Regions from separate parts of the Homo sapiens genome. Here all the other regions are linked to region 1. Evidence: promoter capture Hi-C in 16 types of primary human blood cells and fetal thymus (Javierre and others, 2016). All regions are on one chromosome and are shown on one strand. The core of a region is centred on a gene start or on the middle of the fragment in contact, and the rest is flanking DNA. Distances in the headings are between cores, read along the strand shown.

What was found. The method cuts DNA at HindIII sites, captures the fragments that hold promoters and counts their contacts. A CHiCAGO score of 5 or more calls a contact.
Region 2: a contact is called between the fragment with the promoter of ZNF706 here and the fragment with the promoter of CFAP418-AS1 in region 1, in 1 of 17 cell types (neutrophils). The highest score is 7.8, in neutrophils.
Region 3: the fragment with the promoter of DECR1 here is called in contact with the fragment with the promoter of CFAP418-AS1 in region 1 in 1 of 17 cell types (M0 macrophages); the score reaches 7.1 in M0 macrophages.

Annotation. Positions count from the first base shown.
Region 1 is chr8:95,267,333-95,270,454 of GRCh38, forward strand. It overlaps CFAP418-AS1 (CFAP418 antisense RNA 1), which reads left to right and starts at 1,504. Exons shown (of 4, transcript NR_038209.1): 1 at 1,504-1,558. CFAP418 (cilia and flagella associated protein 418) reads right to left here and starts at 1,869. Exons shown (of 6, transcript NM_177965.4): 1 at 1,703-1,869. The coding sequence starts at 1,857. It overlaps TRS-AGA2-5 (tRNA-Ser (anticodon AGA) 2-5), which reads right to left and starts at 2,406; the gene lies at 2,325-2,406. RefSeq lists enhancers at 1,461-1,900, 1,855-2,494, 2,531-2,610. The HindIII fragment of the contact is 4,678 bases long and covers 1-3,122 here.
Region 2 is chr8:101,204,240-101,207,361 of GRCh38, forward strand. ZNF706 (zinc finger protein 706) reads right to left here and starts at 1,434. Exons shown (of 4, transcript NM_016096.5): 1 at 1,196-1,434. RefSeq lists silencers at 969-1,568, 1,779-1,998. The HindIII fragment of the contact is 4,829 bases long and covers 1-3,122 here.
Region 3 is chr8:90,000,009-90,003,130 of GRCh38, forward strand. DECR1 (2,4-dienoyl-CoA reductase 1) reads left to right here and starts at 1,469. Exons shown (of 10, transcript NM_001359.2): 1 at 1,469-1,553. The coding sequence starts at 1,485. RefSeq lists enhancers at 813-1,107, 1,956-2,095 and a silencer at 1,386-1,485. The HindIII fragment of the contact is 6,361 bases long and covers 1-3,122 here.

The sequences.
Region 1 (3,122 bases), core at 254-2,753:
GGCTCATGCCTGTAATCCCAGCACTTTGGGAGGCCGAGGTGGGTGGATCACGAGGTCAGGAGATCGAGACCATCCTGGCTAACACGGTGAAACCCCGTTTCTACCAGAAATACAAAAAATTAGCCAGGCGTGGTGGCGGGCGCCTGTAGTCTCAGCTACTCGGGAGGCTGAGGCAGGGGAATGGGAGGCGGAGCTTGCAGTGAGCTGAGGTGGGCCACTGCACTCCAGCCTGGGCGACAGAGCGAAACTCAAAAATAAATAAATAAGTAAATAAAATAAATAAATATCACTGGAGGTAAGCCAGGTGAACTGGATAGTAACAGAGTTGGATAATACTTTGGGAAATCACACATACACACACCAAAAAACCAAAACCAAACCAAAGATGCAGCAAAAAAATTAACGGAGATGACGTTCTTAGATTGATCCAAAGTTGCCTCCGTGTAATTTCACAAGCGTTTCCAAAATATTCTAGGCAAGAGGCAATTTCCAAAAGATTCTAGCAAGAGTTACTGAAGGTCAATATTCTTATGCAAACATTTTGTTTTTTTTTTTTGAGGGGTTGTGGGGGAAATGAGGAAGTGAAGGAAATCCTATTATTTAATAATTACATGGAGGAAAAACGACTGGTAAATTTGAAAGGTAGTTTTTAGATAAAAAACCAAAATACCTTAAGAAATGTCCTTAAATTTCCATATGTATGTCTGGCACCCTTAACTAGGGGGCCATGGAGAGAAGGAAGGTAGACGGTTTAATGTTCACAATAATTAACCCTTTTGTAATGAATTTAATCTCATCTTAACTCCCTGAGTTAAAAAAATAAAACAAACTGAGTCAGGTGCGATGGCTCGCAACTGTAATCCTAGCAGTTAGGGGAGGCAGAGGCGGGAGGACAGCTTGAACTCAGGAGTTCAAGACCAGCCTGGCCAACACAGTGAGACTGTCTCTACAAAAAATACAAATTAACCGGGCTCGTGCCTGTAATCCCAGTTTACGTAATCCCAGATTACAGGCTCGTGCCTGTAATCCCAGCTAGGGTAGGCCGAGGTGGGAGGATCTTTGAACCCGGGAGTTGGAGGCTGCAGTGAGCTACGATCGTGCCACTGCACTCCAACCTGGGCGACAGAGCGAGACTCCATCTCAAAAAACAAACAAAACAACAAAACTGAGCTAAAGACAAATAGGATTGACCTGGGGAGTGGGGTCTGAGGCAATGGGATGAGGCTGTCTAACAGGGCACCTCACAGGGAGATGAGAACCGCTTGGCCACACAGAGGCAAAATGCGGCCGAGGTCAGCACAGCCCTCTCGGGGTTAAGAACGGGGCGCCTGAGGGGTATCCCGGTCCCCGACTAGAACCTCCTACGCGCTGGCAGCCAGAAACAGGATGAAGGAGACTGGCGCGGACTGCGGGCTCTGCGGGCGGGGCGGGGCGGGGCGGGGCGGGGCGGGGCGGGGCGGGGGCCAGCCCTCTGGGGCATGCCGGGGGGCGGAGTCTGCGCTGAGTGAAGAGGTGCCAGAATCCGCGAAGAGGGTCGACGAATGCGCTGCCGCGGAGGGTAGGGCGCTGAGGGTCTGAACCCTGATGCAAGGAGGGGCTGGAGGTCGCGGGCACGTTTCTTTTGGGTTGGGCGGCGGAGGGGCAGCTCTAGGGCCTGGAGCAGGGCTTTACCAGAACAGTCCACCCCTCCCGCCCGGTTAACCTGAGCGTCTCTTTCGCCTTGGCTTGGTTCCGGTCGCTACTGTGGGTGCCGCCGCCGCAGCCTTTGGGCTGCTCGACCATACCCCGTCTTAGAAGGTCAGGTGTGCAAAACTTGGACTCGACTTCATCCAAGAGCTCGTCCAGGTCCTCCGCCATCTTGAATCGCCTGGCCTTTTCCCCTCCAATCGCCAAGGCTCCGGTGGTTTCCAGGAGTAACGAGGGGACCTGGCGGGCTCCTGCCCCGTTAGGCGTCCCCGCGCATGCGCACCGCTTCCCGTGGCAACCCGGCGCCCACGAGGGCTCGCGGCAGAGAACGCGGTGGGTTCGTGAGGGGCGGGCGTATGCAGGGACAGAGTTCGGAGCTGTCTCTGCAGTGTGTCTGTGTGACTCGCGATGCTTTGCGTTTCTTCCTTTCAGCATGTCTGGCGTGGTTCCTCCCGTCTCCCCCTCCCGGGCCCACGTTGTAACCACAAGCACGCATTCTCGCCCCTTCATTCTCTCCTCTCCCGTTTGGGTCCCTGTTGTGTTTCAGCCGTTTGTAAATTCCTGAAATCTGTGGAAGGTTTGAGCAGAACGCTCTAAAACACAAAAAGTAAGTGTTGACGGCAAAAAGCTGACATTCCCGTAGTCGGCAGGATTCGAACCTGCGCGGGGAGACCCCAATGGATTTCTAGTCCATCGCCTTAACCACTCGGCCACGACTACTGGCTGTGTGAATTTTTGCGGTGAGAGTGCATGTAGACTCTGCATAAGCGTCTGCTGCAGCAATAGGCACGTTTTGATGTGGAGGAAACCATTACTGAGCTGTTCTGTTAAGAGCATATTTGAATGTTACCTCGCTCATCATTTTACAGTTTGTAAAAGTCTTAGAACGTATCCCGTCCAACTCTTTGTTGGAAAAAACGGAAATTCTAATTAAATCCGAGAGAGAGAGAGAGAGAGACAGAGAGAGAGATGCGTGCTCAAAACTATTGCACACCCACTTGCTTGCACAATGTTGGAGCCATTTCCAGGAGAGAACCAGGAACCGGGTAGGGGCCAACCAGCTTCCCGACTTCCTTGTGGGGCTGCCAGTTCCACTCCTTCGCCTTTCTCTTTGACAAACGGCTCCCAGGACTATCTTTTCACCCATTATACATTAAAAAGCTATTACCCAGCGATTTAAATTCACTCTGCAGGGTCAGACAGTCCCACCGTGCCATAAAAGCACTACTTTGAAAAGTGTAAAGCGTGATACAAGTGTAAGGTATTGTAAATGGCATTCTTAATAAATACTGTGCATAGTTTAACCTGTGTTTTGGGTATTTCTAAAGTGGGGTAGCAAAGAGGTTGGCACCCTTGGGAACTCTGGAGATAGTTTGATCCAGATGATTTGTTTGTTCAAAGTATCTTTTAAGGTCCCTGAAGAGCAACATGTAGTG
Region 2 (3,122 bases), core at 184-2,683, 5.9 Mb after region 1:
AAATTATTTTTAACTTTTGCACTTAGGACTTTCCCTAAAATATAACATTACACAATAGATTCAACCCATTTTCCATTGTCACCAAACAGCAACCAAAAAGACCGAAGAGACTTAATAAAGACAGTAGTCACTTGTTCTTATTCTGAAGACAGAAAACTTAACACCAGGTAAAGGAAATGGAATAAAATAAGCTAAATGCATGAGGTAGGCCCCTAACTTCTGACAACACGCCCCATCGATTTCCTTTCTGAAAGCAGAAATTCAAACGAACCAACCACCTGCTTTTGGACAGCTCAACTTAGGACTTGCTCTCAAGCCAACACAATTTTCTACAAAATCGTAGGCAGCTACAACCGCTCCTTGATTAAATGCGACAAACTGGAGGGAAAAAGTCACTTACAAATACCTACATGCTGGTTTTTAATGCAACTCTCAGTGTGGTTTTCCGAGGGGGCTGCAAAGAGGGAAGTAGTGGAAGAAACGAGTTCTAAAATGAGGCGCTCTCGTAGGAGGCAACAAGTAAGCTCTGCCCCAAAGCTCCTTTTAAAACCAACATAAATGAGTAACAGAAGAAAAGGATTTTGGGTCCAGGAAGTAGGCTCATTCTCCATAACCATCGGAAAGGAAGAGGCCCAGGCAGCGCTCCACATCCTGACCCTAGCTTTTAACACCATCGTTTTGGGGAGAGGAGAGGAGGAACGCACCCACAGTGAGGTCTCCACCCAACACTTCTCCGACCCCAGCTTCAGCCTGGCGCACCTTCCTTCCCAAACCCGCCTCTCCCGCCTCGGAGACCCCCTCCTCCTCCCTGCCACCAAAGGCCACGCAGCCCCCATCTAGCCAGTCCTCACGGACCCTGGACCAAGACGCGCCTCCTGGAGGCCGAGACTGCCCGAAACCCGGCCCCTGCGTCCACCGGGAGCGCCACACTCTGGCAGCTGACCGGCGGCTGTCGCCGGGGGTAAGGTTACCGCTCCGCTTCCGCGGCTGGCCTGCGACCCGGCCACCTGCAGGGCCTGGCAGGCGCCCGAACTCATCCCCTTCCCGCGGCCCGCCCCGGGCCGGGCCCTGCCGCCCCCCGCGACCCCTCGCGACCCGCGGCGAGTCCCACGGTCCCCACCGCCCCCCGCTGGCCGGCCCCCGCCCCGTTTCCCGGGCGTCCCGCGGCGTCAGCACCGCCCCCGCTGCCGCTCACCCGGGCCGGGACAGTCTTGCGTCGGAGAGACAGTGCAGCGCGAGAGGGCCGGGAGAGGACGCCGGAGGGAAAGGAAGGGGGAGCGCGCCCAGCACCGCTTGGGCCTCCTCCACCCGCTCAGGAGGGGAAACACGAGAGCCGGGAGCACAACAGCCTCGCACGCCCGCCGCCGCCGCGCGCCCGCCGCCGCCTCAGCCTTAGGGGAGACCACTACGCCTCGTGCCCGCGCACGCCGCGCCGCTCTCCTCGGCGCCCCCGCCCCGCCTGCTCCTCGCAGCCCCGCCCATGTGCCTTTCTGCGGCTGCCTCCTTCTGGCCCCCACCCCGCTCGCACGCCTGCGCCCTGGCTGGTCGCGCGGGCCAATGGCAGCGCGCCCCTATTACATAAGCGCGAGGGGGCGGGCCCTGGCTGACACAAACTTCAGGGGACGTCGCCTTCTGTCCCCAGGCGCCCCTCCTCTCCGGCGCGCTCGGTCCGGGCGGCTTCTTCACCCAGCCCTGGGAGCCACGTGATCCCGGTCCTGGTTGGTGACCGGGCCGCGGCGTGTTTCACAAGTCGCTCGCTCGCTCATCCACTCGGGCGGCGGCCGGGCCTCAGGCGCTGCGACCCTTTTCCCGCTCCTCCCAGGCTGACGCGCCCGTCTCGGCGCCGCCCTCCTCGGCACCGACTGAGGCGCTGGCCCGGGAGCGGATCGCGGGGCCGCGGTGGCTGAGTCACATTCCCGGAGCCCCGCCACCCAGGACACCGCGGCCCCGGCCCCCAGCGAGCCCGGCGGACCCAGCGGCTCTGAACGCGGACGCACAGCCTTTGTTCTTTCACAGCCGCCCTTTACCTCACTCCCATGGAAACCCCAGGTGTTTTCCCAAGCTGGGGGCTTTTAGTGAGTTCAAGATTCAAGCCTAAGTCGTATTAAAAATTGCTGGCTAGGCCGGGCGCGGTGGCTCACGCCTGTAATCTCAGCGCTTTGGGAGCCCAAGGCAGGAGGATCACTTGAGCCCAGGAGTTCCAGACCAGCCTGAGTACATAGCGAGACCCACGTCTCCACAAAAATAAAATAAAATAAAATAAATAGTGGAGCATGGTGGCCCGCGCCTGTAGTCCCAGCTACTCGGGAGGCTGAGGTGGGAGAATCGCTTGAGGCCGGGAGGTGAAGGTTGCGGTAAGCCGAGATCGCGCCATTGCACTCCATCCTGGGCGACTGAGTGAGACCCTGCCTAAAAAAAAAAAAAAACAAAAAAAGAAAAAAAAATTGCTGGCCAGGCTTCCCGGAGGGGTTTAGTTTGACTGCTAACAATATACGGTACTGAGTTGCTAATCCTTCGGGGAATGGTTAAAGTTCTTTGCGCGCGCTCTCTCTCCATTTACAGGCAGTGGCAGCAAACTTTCAATATCTGACAAGAGCAATGGCGATTATAACCATGATTAAAATTGCTGAATATCTGGAAACAGTACTTTAGACATCAGCTTTATTGTGCATACTTACCCCCGACCCCCGCCACATTCGTTTCTAATTAGAACTACTAGTGACAAAGGAGAAAAAAAAAAAGTGTTTGCATTGGCTGTTCTCACCTTGCCTGTAGTGCCGTTTCCCAAGTTTGCGTGGCAGTGCCCAGGAAATGTTGGCTGAATATTAGTATATCCCAAATGACTTGGACTGGGCTATAGATACCACAGAATTGTTTAAACTAGCCAGGAAGGAGTTAGCTGCCTATTGCATTTGAGTGGAGAAAAATACGAAATGAAACATGGCATGCAGTGATCCGGGTGTTCAGTTCTCCCTCTTCATCCTCATTTCAGCTTCTCTCACCTTCACTTTTTATGCTCTGACTTCCTTCTTGCAGTTTTAAATTACTCTCTAGTCCTAGATTGTAAGATTATTTTCATCAGGGAATACGCAGTATGTTAAACATAGTAGACGTTGAATAAA
Region 3 (3,122 bases), core at 219-2,718, 5.3 Mb before region 1:
CAAGGTTTTTTTGGGAGGACAGAAAATGCCTCCTAAGCTGGTCTAAAAGTTATTTAAGAGGGCAAGTGTTCTGGGCTGAATTGTGTACTTCCCTCTTCTCCCAGCCAAATATATACATTGAACTCTTAACCCCCAGTATGTCAGAATGTGGCTATATTTGGAGATAGAGTCTTTAGGGAGGTAATTCCAGTTAAATTAGGTCATTGAGGGTGGGCCTTAATCCAACACGACTGGTGTCCTCATAAGAAGAGGCAATTTAGATATGGAAAGGTACACAGGAGGATCATGTAAAGACACAGGGAGAAGATGGTCCCACAGTGGCTCCACAAGAAACCAACTCTGCTGACTTGTGGCCTCCAGAATTGTGAGAAAACAAATTTCCATTTAAGCCACCCAATCTGTGGTAGTTTTGTTCCTGGACCAAACTGAGGGTCAGGCTGCTATTTCTTGCTGCCAATAATGAGATGTCGATGAACTGGGGATGAAGAAAGTTTTTATTTCTGTAACCAGTTACAGGCAGAAGGCCTGGAAATTATCACCAGACCAACTCAAAATTACAAAGTTTTTCAGAGTTTATATACCTTATAAGCTATATGTCTACATGTAAGTGTACATTCCTCTGAAGATATAAATGTTTCTTTATCAGCATTTGGAACATGCCAGGCAAATAGTAAACACTCAATATCATCTACCATCAGCCTCAGCCTGGGGCCTCACACCCATCTTCTTTTATCTAAAATTCTGAATTAGCTATGAATATTCTCATTTTACGAATGAGGAAAGAAATGTGATCTGAGCTAATGCCTTGTGTCAACAGGTATATTACACTAAGATGGAGAATGATATACTGAATCTGTGTTTGCCTTTAACGTGTGTTTAACTTCGAGAAAAAAGCCAAGGCTGGGCGGTCGCAGTCACGCTGCATCCGGCGACAGGGGGCGGTGTGTCCTGCGAAAAGTCAAAACGCCGGAAGCTGCCCTTAGTGTTTTTCAGCCTCTTGGTCTTAGGGAAAGTGAGGCCGTGTTTTACATCCAACATATTATTATTCTGATAATATGTGACTTGGCGCCACGCGCACTCTGCACTTAAACACGCACTTAAGGGATAAACACATACGACTGAAAAAGAGTTTCGCCCTTGATAGGCAGTGTATGGGGTGCGCAGCTGCAATCTGCAAACCCTTGCAGGGCGCGGGGTTTCGTACACCCGCTCAAGGACGCAAAGAACCTCCATTCTCTGCCATACAAAGCACTCCTGGCCCAGAGAGCAGGAAAGAGCATCAGCTAGGCCCAGCTAGGCGGCGCCCTCGGCCGGACTCTGAAGGTCAGGGCCGCTGGGCGTCCACGCCGCCTGGGTCCCAGTCCCCGTCCCATCCCCCGGCGGCCTAGGCAGCGTTTCCAGCCCCGAGAACTTTGTTCTTTTTGTCCCGCCCCCTGCGCCCAACCGCCTGCGCCGCCTTCCGGCCCGAGTTCTGGAGACTCAACATGAAGCTACCGGCCAGGGTTTTCTTTACTCTGGGGTCCCGGCTGCCCTGTGGCCTCGCTCCTCGGAGGGTAAGGCGGCCGGGGGCGCGGGGAGCGAGGACAGGGCGTCTCGACGCGCAAAGAGAGAGGACAGGGCGTCACGGGGGCTCGGGGAGCGAGGACAAGGCATCCTGGGGCGCAAAGAGAGAGGACAGGGCGTCCCGGGGGTTCGGGGAGCGAGGACAGGGCATCCCGAGGCGCAGAGAGAGAGAGGACAGGGCGTCCCGGGGCCTCGGGGAGCGAGGACAGGGTGTCCCGGGGCTCAAAGAGAGAGGACAGGGCGTTCTGGAGCGCTAAGAGAGCACAGAGCAACCCGGGGAGCGAGAGAGAGGACAGGACGTCTCGGGGCGCAAGAGAAAGGGCAGGAAGTCTTGGGGCACAAAGAGAGGACCCGGCGTCCCTGGGGCTCAGGGAGCTAGGACAGGGCGTTTTGGGGCGCAGAGAGAGAGGACCACCAGGTCCCGGAGCGAAGGGCAACGCCGGGAGTGAGCACCGGGGCCCGGGTCGTATTCCACTGTCAGATGAAGCCCTGATGTGTGTAGGGGAATAGGGAAGAGACGTGATTTTCGAAGTTTTCACAGTTCTGCAAGTTTCCAACTTGTGTGTAAATAGGTAGAAAGAGGTAGGGAAGGATACGGCGCCCGTCCACCCCTTAAGGAGTGAGAGGGGATCAGGCCGAGCGAGCACTGACCTTTGACGTCCTTTGTTGTGAGGAAAGTCCATCTATGTGTTAGTTATGGAATTAAACACTAATACAAACAAATTATCATAAAAATGAAACAAAAACAAAACCCCAGCTGTTTATAGACTCCCCTTCCCAGATGTATAGCTGGGAGAGGTCCGTCTCACACTGGCTTCCCCCTCTCTCTGGCCCACACTCCTGTCACCATCTCCATTGCACCCATAGTGGAAATAGCTAGGAAGTGAAAACAGCTAGGAAGAAGAAAGAGAAACAAAAACAAAAAGAAGCAATAATATCCAAGACAAGCCCTCCCCACATCTAAATTACAAAATTGTTATAAGTAAACTAAAAAGCACATTTTCTTTAGCCAGGTAGAAAAATTAATATGTCAACTGTGAAAAAACTTCTTTTGATTTGATAGAATAGACAGCCATGGTGTTGTTTTTCAAAAAATATGGGCAGCAGTAGTTCCAAATAGGAATACAAAGAATTAGTATGGTGGTTCCCTCAAGTAAGGTATCTTTCTTTTAAAAAGTGAGATTTGTTCAGGGTTAGGGTTTTGCTGATTTTTTTTCTCTCCCTGTGAAAACTGGGTTATAGATCATTATAAAGGAAGCCCATATTTTCTGATACTTTTCAGAGACATTTCTCATTTGAAATCTACAACAGCTCTGTGATGTCTTCAGAGATTTCATTTTTTAACACACATCATTAGGATTGTAGCAATAAGGTCATACAGACCTTATCCAAGCTCTTCTGACACCATTAGACAATACAGTTTGAGAAGGAGAAAATGAACTCATTTAAAAATTAATTGTAATCTGACAATTTTGAAATTCCTTTGCTGAAGAAAAATATGGAAGTTTTGAGGTTCAGGGTTGGGAGGCAAGAGAGGTACCTGTTAGTGTGGTTTGTCC